2 separate regions of the Homo sapiens genome follow, and region 1 is linked to region 2. Evidence: promoter capture Hi-C in human tissues and cell types (Jung and others, 2019). All regions are on one chromosome and are shown on one strand. The core of a region is centred on a gene start or on the middle of the fragment in contact, and the rest is flanking DNA. Distances in the headings are between cores, read along the strand shown.

Region 1 (4,336 bases), core at 1,447-3,946, 730 kb after region 2:
TGTGAGAGTGAGAATGTCCTTGTTTGAGGAAATACACATTAAAGTATTCAGGAGTGAGGGGCCATCAGGCCAGCAACTTACTCTCAAATGATACAGAAAAAAAAAAGTCCTTTGTACTATTCTTGCAACTTTTTCATAAGTTAAAAATTATTTCAAAGGGGAAGAAAAAGTCCCAAAACTTCATTCTGGCTGTGGCTGAAAGCTCTGAGTCTTTCTTTATCTCACTAAAGGCAAAGGCTGCAGCCAGTTCAGGTGGCCAAACCTGTTCATCCTGACTGTCTTGGGGCAGGCTGCCAGGCGTGGGCAGACAAACACCTCCATGTGCAGGGGTTCAGGCCCGAGGCTGGCCTGGGAGGGCTGGATGCTGGCTGCAGGCCAAGGCTCCAGTGAGGAACCTCAGCACTAAGCACTCCAGGAGGAGGTCGGTGGCCTGTGGCCTCTAGGGCTTGGGATAGGAAGTGAAGCAAACCGGGACTTTTCCTATCCTCCACTGGGACCGAGACCTTACCATCAGGCCTTGAAGGCTCAGGGAAGGAGGAGCCTAGGGAAGGGAGGAGGGGAGAGGAAGAGAGCAGTGCCTTTGCTCTCTGGTATTGTCACATTATATATATAAACACATATATATACACATATATATACACGTGTGTGTGTGTGTGTGTGTGTATATATATATATGTGTGTGTGTGTGTATATATATATATAAAATCTAAGTCACCAGAACCTGTTGTCCTTGGCCCTCTATGCCATTTCCCCTTCACTGTTTCCCCAGCAGGGGTGGCAGGGGTCCAGCTGGTGCAGTTGCCAGTGGAACCAGGAGAGAACTGCCTTAGGAACCAGTGTTCAGTGGCCTGTCACTAAGGGTTTCTGAGGTTTGTTTTTCCCCACAGCAAAGCTGCTGCTTCACTTTTTGCATATTTTAACAGTTTCAATGTTTTCCCTGGGATAGTCCTACAAATTTCAAAAATGGAAAAGCAGTAAGCATTTGCTGATGCATGTCTTCTCCATGCAACTGTGAGCTGCTAAAGGCAAGCGCTGTGCAAACTCACTTTTCTATACACTCCCTCCCAGTGCCTAATAAGGGTCGGTCCACAGCAAGCGCTCAATGAATGCTTTGTTTCTCTGTCCAGGTGTGTGTGTCTGTGTGTGTGTGTGTTCCCGCACTGCCTTTTTCTGCATATCTGGGGGGCAAAGAGATAAGTCCCCACTTCCCTCCATGTTTCAGCCTGCAAAGGCTCTCTCTGAGGCACCTGATTCCTAAATAAGGTCGTTCATGTTTGTGACTGTCTAAAGTGGCGTGCTTTGTTCCTAAGAGATGGATAAGCCATCTTTATCTGCCATAAGAAACAAGTGAGACAATGGCTCCTAGAGATAAGGAGCTGGGCACTGGGCACATGCCTAGTGTGGCTGAAACACTGACTTTTGCACAGCGCAGAGAAGCTTGTCCCCACCCCACCCCAGTCATGAGCACTGTCCATTGTACTGAACGGTCACAGTTTGCAGCAACAGCGGACAATGGACCCCTGCTCAAGAGTCAGAGGTGTGGGAAAGAGGGTTAAAATAGGAATTTCCACTCCTCAGATGTTCTCCAAAGCCTGGTGGAAAGCACATCTGGGTCCTCACTGGTGACTGCTATGATCTAGATAAAGAATAGAGGCTCTCAAGAAATCAGAGATGGGCTCTGGGCTGGCAAGCTAGATCCAGGAGCTCTCATGGAGGTGATGGGGTCCCCAGGCTGGGCAAGCTCTAGGGCTGGAGGTTCTGCCCCCAGCAGTAGTGGCAAAAGCAGCTGTGAAGGCAATGCCTTCGGGAGCTTGCTGGCCCTTTTCAGGCTGTGCTATCTGAAAAGCATCTACGCATCGTACAGCCCATGTCAACAACATTTCGGCCCACAGAGCTGGAATGCTTCATTCAGCCCCAGGGCCTTATCTTCTGAGATCCAGTTACTAGCAACAAGCATCATGATAAGGTGGCAGCCAGGCGCCTGTCTGATCCTGCCTGGGTCCGGCATCTGACCCCAGTATGACCTCCCTCCTCTCCCACCTGGGCCTGACTCATGCTTCCAGAACAGGAACTCGAGGATCCCTGCTGCCCAGCCATAGCTGACTCATGGCTGGTCCAGGGGTTGCTCTGGAAGGGGCTCAGGACAGCTGTCAGCTCTCAGGAAGGAGACACCTGTCATTTCCTGAGCACCTACCATGTGCCAGGCACCAGGCACACCTCTGAATTTCATTGGTATAATTAACTTGAAGGGGATTTCTGATCTTTCGTAGAAAGGAGAAAAATGAGGATCAGGCAGAAGTGAATTCAAAGGCCAATCTCTTAGCACCGAGCACAGCCATCCACTCACCCTCAGTGCACTCCCTGGGGCCAGCCACCACCACCCCTGGGAACCACTGTTTCTTTTCTAAAATTTAAAAAAAAGAGAGAGAGAGATTGGGCCAGGCGCAGTGGCTCACACCTGTAATCCCAACACTTTGGGAGGCCAAGGCAGGCGGATCACTTGAGGTCAGGAGTTGGAGACCAGCCTGGCCAACATGGTGAAACCCCATTCCTACTAAAAAATACAAAAAATCAGCTGGGTGTGGTGGCACAATCCTATAATCCCAGCTACTTGGGAGGCTGAGGCATGAGAATCGCTTGAATCTGGGAGGCAGAGATTGCAGTGAGCCGAGATCGTGCCACTGCACTCCAGCCTGGGCGACAGACTGAGACTCTGTCTCAAAAAAAAAATACAGAGAGAGGGTCTCACTATGTTGCCAAGGCTGGTCTCCAACTCCTGGACTCAAGCAATCTTCCTGCCTCAACTTCCCAAAGCTCTAGGATTACAGGTGTGAGCCACCTCACCCAGCCTCACCGTTTCTTCATTCATTCCTCCATCCCACATTTATCAACGGCTTCCTCTCCTCTGCTTCATGGCCAGTCAGTCCCAGAGGGCAGACTTTGGGAAGCCCACCAGCTCTCCTGAAGGAGTCAGGCTTGCCTGGGAAAGGGGGCACTTGCACCCCAAGTCCACCAAGGCAGAGACAGGTATCCCTACTCCCTGCAACCCTCTCTCAGCCAGCGGGTGGGGCTAGCGTGGCCTCCATGGCTGCAGAGGGGTCTCTGGCCTGGACTGCAGCATGGTCTTGGCAGCACACTCCTGCACCCAGTAGGTGCTTCGGGAGGCATCCTTGCTGTCCCCTGGCATCAGCCCTGCAGTGGGTGAGCAGGTGAGGTGGCAGGAGCAAGGAGATCACCTCTCATTCCTGTGGTTTCAGGTGCCTGGCTGATGTCAGGCCTGAGTGATGTGGCAGTGGGGGCAGGGGGTCACTGTGTCTGGGGCCTGAATGGGGGCTGAGGCTTTTCCTTAAAAGTTCATAAATCACTAAATATGTCCCCTTTCAGCACAGCCACACCCTGGGCCTGTGAGGATGCATCTCCTCATGCAGACACAGACAGCTTTCCTCAGGCCCTGCTCACTGCTCACATGTGCCTTTATGGTGCCACAGGGATATGGTCTCATATCCCTCACACGTGCAGTGAATACACACATGTGCACATAACTCACACAGGCAGATAGTCCCTCTTGGGCACACAGGTGCATGCTACAAGCAGCCTTGTGTAAGTGCCCACAGCCCCCTCCCACCTCACACATGTCCACGTGGCTTCATGCTATTCCGGTGCCCACTGGTGTCCCCAGGCACAGAGAAGCACACACTTGGCAGGGCACTTAAGCTTCTCCAAGCACTCAGGGAAACACATGACTTTGTGCTATCGCACATGCTCCCAAATGTACACACTCACAAATATGCAAAGTCTGCAGGAGCCTGAATTCCATCACACACCTGCACAGTCATGTGCACTCAGCACTCACACATACACTGCGGTTCCCAGGGGTGGTGCTCACTCAAGGCAGAAGGTACACACTCAAATCATGCACACACACCAGATGCGCACGTGCATGCATGAACAACAGACTATGCCCAGGTGTCCACACAGCATTCGCACGTTCATGCCCACCAGTAGACTTGTAAGCGGGACCTTCAGGACATCAGGAACGAGAGTACAGCAGGGAGGGAACTGCAGCTGGCAGGATGCTGCAATCCCCAGCCTCACCTCTGGGAGCCGCTGTCGGGTCTGCAGCCAAGCCCTTGGCTTGGAAGGGCAGGAGCCTGCCTGAGGCACAATCCCACTGGCCTGAGCCAGCAGGTGGCACAGCTCAGGCTGGACCCAGCCAGCCTCAAGGAGGGAAGAGAGGGACATCATGGTGGCGCTGGACTCCCTGCAGGGTATGGGATGAACTCTGCTGCTCAGATGGGCAGGGGCTGCAAGAAGGAAGAATGGGCAGCTTGAACTC
Region 2 (4,845 bases), core at 375-2,874:
GTGGAGGTGATCAGAGGGGCCCCTATCTCTGATCCAGAACCTTCTCAACTCATGCCACCTACTAAGAGAAGTTCTGTGCCCATTGCAAACCAGCAACTTGAGTCAGCAATTAGGTGGTAATCCCCTGAGCACCATTCTTGGCACTTGGAGGACAGTATTCTTAAACGGGGTTATACAAATGAACAGTTAAATGAATACACTGATGGACCCTGACTCTCATCCACCCACACCTAACAGGATCCCACTGTGAGCCCCTAACTGACCCAGCCTGGGGAGCAGATCCTTCTTAGCTCCACCCCTGGACCCCCAGCTCTCTAGCCCCCAAACTTACTTGACTCTAAAGTCATCAGCAGCAAGACGGGCATTGTCAATCTGCAGAACGATGCGGGCATTGTCCACAGTATTTGCGAAGATCTGGAGGGATTGTAGAGAGAGGTTGTTCCATGAATAGAAAGCCAGGGATGGGTGGGGTGAGTGTGTAAAAAGTGTTATGTATCCTAGTGAAAACTTCCTGGTCCCAGGAATAGCCAGAGGCTCTCCCTGGACACCTATCCCTTTTCATCTAGCCCCACCCCATTCCCTCCTTTCCTGGATTCCCAGATCCCAGCACTCTGCCCCTCTTGGGAAGCCTCAGCAGGCTGGCTAGCTGGCTGGCCTGCCTGCCCAGAAGTGAGTCGCTACTAACAAGTCCTCTTCCTGGCCCTCTCCTGGCATTTTTTCCCTAGTGCACCTGGTCACTCTGGGCCCCCTACACCCTGGATTGGCTCCTCCCAAAGGAAGGCCTCTTGTTTACTCCTAGATGACTCAGCCTTAGCCACATCCGCTTAACCCTCCAATAGTCCCCATTCCGCCAGAGCCAGTGTCTCCTCCTCTTTACAGGCCTTTCCTTACCTCCCTCCATGCTGTCCACTTCCTCTGTAAAGCTCTCAACCCTGTCCCCTTCCCCCTCTCTCCTGGGAAAGAGCCCTCCCATGCCTAGCTGCTGCTCTTAGGGACCCTGTGGCTAGGTGCGCGGATGGAAATCCAGGTATGCCCAACCCCCTCCCGGTGGAGTAGGGGTTGGGTGGTTATGGAATGACGGAAAGAGGCAAAGGAGTGTATAATTGGAGGGTCAGACAAGGCTGGGAGTTGAGGTCCCTCCTACCCCTTACCTGAGCCCTCAGGTCCTCGATGATCTTGAAGTAATGGCTCCAGTCTCTGACCTGGGGTCCCTTCTTCTCCAAGTGCTCCCGGATTTTGCTCTCCAGCCTCCGGTTCTCGGTCTCCAGGCTCCTCACTCTGTCCAGGTAAGAGGCCAGGCGGTCGTTCAGGCTTTGCATGGTCTCCTTCTCGTTCTGGATGCCTCCCATTCCTGCCAGACCCCCGGCTATCCCGGTGGCCAGGCCCCCGGACCCCATGCCGCCCCTGAAGCTGGTGGAGCGGGACACGGAGATCCGGGAACCAGAGCCCCCAGCGCCTGCATAGACGCTGGCCGCGCTGCTGACCGGCCGGGCGCCGTAGCTGGGCGCCTGGACAGAGCCCAGGGACCGGTAGTTGGTGGAGAAGGTGGAGCGAGTGGTGAAGCTCATGCTGTCCGGGGAGAGAGAAAGGACAGGACTCAGGCTTTGCGGACGACGGTGGCGGCCTGCGCGAGCCGCGCGACCCGAGTTATATCGCAGAGTGAGGCCCCGCCCCCGCCCCGGAGCCGCTTCGGAAGCCGGAGCCACAGGTGGACGGCTCGGAGCCCGCGCCCTCCGCCCCGGGCCGCTCCGCCCCGGGCCCCACCCCCGCGCCCTCCGCGCAGCCCTGCCAAGCCCCGCTCACCCCCCAGAAACGGGGTGGCCAACCGGGCATGGACACGGACAGCAGGTGTTGTTGGCCCTCGAGGCTGCTTTCAGGGCAGGAAATGACGTTATTATGCTCTTCTCCCCCAGGTGGAGGAGGTGCTGGCGAGTTTGAAATTTGGGAGTCTTGACCGGGCGCAGTGGCTCACGCCTGTAATCTCAGCACTTTGGGAGGCCTAGGTGGGCGGATCACGAGGTCAGGAGATCGAGACCATCCTAGCCAACATGGTGAAACCCCCTCTCTACTAAAATACAAAAAATTAGCCGGACGTGATGGTGCACGCCTGTAGTCTCAGCTACTTGGGAGGCTGAGGAAGGGGAATCGCTTGAACCTGGGAGGCGGAGGTTGCAGTGAGCCGAGATCGCGCCACTGCAGCCTGGCGACAGAGTGAGACTCTGTCTCAAAAAAAAAAAAAAAAAAAAAGAAAAAAGAAATTTGGGGGTCTGGTGGTGTGCGGGTGGAATGGCCTGTGAGTCCCTCTAGCTGTCCTTAACCTGCAGCCCAAATTATCCACTTGTGGAGGGGATCTTGGGGGCATCCTGGAGCCCCAGGAGTCCCGGGGAAGAAAGGCTGGGAGCTGGAGAAGAGGAGGAGAAGCAATGCCCAGCCTCATAGCTGCTTGCTTACACACTCACACCCCAGCTGCACCTGGCTCCCAAACACTCCTCGCCTGCCCACGTTTCCTCACACACACTCACACCCGAATCATACAGAGGTGTGCTCTCAAATGCACACACACATACATTCACTCAGCAAATAGGTGCAGACTCCCCAAAACAAACCCAGTCTCTGAGCCCCCTCCACCACCCTCCCCTCTCCCGACCTCACTCCCAAGGGCCTTGCCTCAGTGGAACACTGTGATTTGGACAGGGAATGCATCCTGACTTCTGCACACCGGTATATCACCTTTCCTGCATCCTTAATTAAACAAATCCTGAGCATTTACAATTCAACCAGTATGCATTCAGCACCTACTGTGAGCCAGGCCCAGTTCTAGGAGCTGGGAGAGAAGGGCGGTGACAAAAGAGACCAAAAATCTCTCACAGAGATGATAATGTGTCCCACATCGCCGGGCACAGTGGCTCATGCCTGTAATCCAAGCACTTTGGGAGGCCGAGGCGGGTGGATCACTTGAGGTCAAGAGTTCGATGCCACTGCACTCCAGCCTAGACAACAGAGCAAGACTCTGTCTCAAAAAAAAAAAAAAAAAAAAAAAATTTGAGACCAGCCTGACCAACATGGTGACACCCCTTCTCTACTAAAAATACAAAAATTAACCAGGCACAGTGTGTGCCTGTAATCCCAGCTACTCAGGAGGCTGAGGCAGGAGAATCGCTTGAACCCAGGAGGCAGAGGTTGCAGTGAGCCAAGATCGTGCCGTCGCGCTCCAGCCTGGGCAACCAGAGCGAAACTCTGACTCAAAATAAATAAATAAATAAATAAATAAAAGTAATGTGTCCTACATCGCATGGGGCCTGAGAGGACAGGCAGGCACTCCTAGGACCATCATAGCAGCGACCCAGCCCTGGTGGCCAGTGCCCCTCCCCTCTTTTCTAGGACTTTTCTCCAAGCCAGTCCTTCCCCTGTCCCCCCTTGTAAGGGCTGTCTGGATTAGAAGCCTGGCCCCAGGGGACTGCATCCTCCAAGATGCTCTCCCCAGCCTCTGTGTGAGAAGGATGGAGGTAGGGAGGCTTTCATGCTGCCTGCCCCCTGAAGCTGAATGACCATCCCTGCTGAATGAAGTGTTGGGGGGAACCCTTAGGTGTTTGGCCTTCAAGTTTGTCAGCTCCAGCAGCTCGTTTTTCTGGCAGGGCCTGGTATGACACATTTGGCTGTGTTCTTTGCTCTGGAGTGGACCTATTGATTCTTATCGAGCTACCAGCTGAGGGGGAAGGGGAGGACAAATAGTAGGGCAGACCTGGGAGAGAAGGGACCCTGGAAAAGCCTGGCCAGTGGACCTGCCAGGTGGGAGGCAGAGCACAGATAAAGAGCCTGAGCCTGGATTGTTCCTGATCTGTCACCTAATGGTGGGGAGAGCCCCACAGTGCTCAATGGGAGCCAGCCAGGGGGCAGTCAGGGTGGAAGCTGGCCAGGGGAGGGTCGGGGCCTGCTGAAGGCTGGGAGGCAAACGGGATGCAAAATAACATACAAATGAATGCCCACTGGTTTTGCATACAAGGCTTCTGGGAGGTAAGAGGTTCCAGTCAGAGGGGTCTCTCCTGCTTTCACCTTTATATTCCCCCACTGGATTCCAGAACTGTCAAGTTGGGCAGTATTTTATAATAAAGTATGTGGAGTCAACAAGCTACGTACTGCCTTTTACTGTTATTGCTAAGCTTTAAGTCAGCCAGCCTGGATACTTTGCTAGCTGTGTAACCTTGGGGAAGTCACCTAACTCTGAACTTCAATTTCTTCACTTGTACAGGGAAAACAGTAAGACCTGTCCAGTCTATTTCCTCAGGTGGCAGTGAATGTGAGTGTAAATTGTCACTCACTCATTCATCAAACAAATACTAATTATTTGTACTGGAGCCTTCCTTCAAAGTAAGGAAGGCTTCAATATATACAGGAGGGCAGATAAAGGGGGTCAATTTAATTCGAAAGACGGGCTCAAGGGGTTTGAAGTCTGTCTCTCTGAGTCATTTAAAAACCCTGGGGCACTTTGAAATCTACCAGCAATCAAAACAGATTCTAGAATTTTTCTCCAAGCTAATTCCCAGGTCCTTGTCTGATTCCTGCCCCACCCCAACTGCTAGGAAACTTCTGGGACCTGTGGAGGTGCAGCGTGGGGGCTGGAGAGGGAGAGCTGCCAGCTAGACTTTATCTCTCCTACTGATGTCGATGGCCACATTCCTGACTTCTTGCAGCATGGGGCAAATACCGACCTCGGGCTTCCAGCACCAGCCTGCCCCTTTCCACCACTTCCAGATTCCTCTGTGGCTCAGGGCTTTTTCACTTTGTCAGAGAGCCTCTTGGAGAGCTGGGGTGAAGGTCTCGGCCTCCAGATTCCCAGCACTAGGG

Evidence for each region. The method cuts DNA at HindIII sites, captures the fragments that hold promoters and counts their contacts. A contact is called where the count stands out against the background at its distance.
Region 1: a fragment that was not itself captured here is called in contact with the fragment with the promoter of KRT18 in region 2 in 2 of the 25 tissues and cell types used here (IMR-90 fibroblasts and lymphoblastoid cells).

The regions. Positions count from the first base shown.
Region 1 is chr12:52,213,448-52,217,783 of GRCh38, reverse strand. The region is part of intron 3 of LINC00592 (long intergenic non-protein coding RNA 592); the gene reads right to left. It overlaps LINC02874 (long intergenic non-protein coding RNA 2874), which reads left to right and starts at 4,201. Exons shown (of 3, transcript NR_164133.1): 1 at 4,201-4,268. RefSeq lists an enhancer at 3,776-4,336. The HindIII fragment of the contact is 5,317 bases long and covers 38-4,336 here.
Region 2 is chr12:52,945,897-52,950,741 of GRCh38, reverse strand. KRT18 (keratin 18) reads right to left here and starts at 1,624. Exons shown (of 7, transcript NM_000224.3): 1 at 1,152-1,624; 2 at 332-414. The coding sequence starts at 1,568. It also overlaps a transcript of KRT8 not described here. RefSeq lists silencers at 581-595, 699-717, 941-964, 1,626-1,675, 1,716-1,795 and 3 more, enhancers at 752-851, 453-1,107, 19-1,218, 1,042-1,635, 1,636-2,229 and 2 more, promoters at 1,595-1,656, 1,866-1,948, 2,026-2,036, 1,957-2,036 and a cis regulatory region at 1,866-1,948. The HindIII fragment of the contact is 11,259 bases long and covers 1-4,845 here.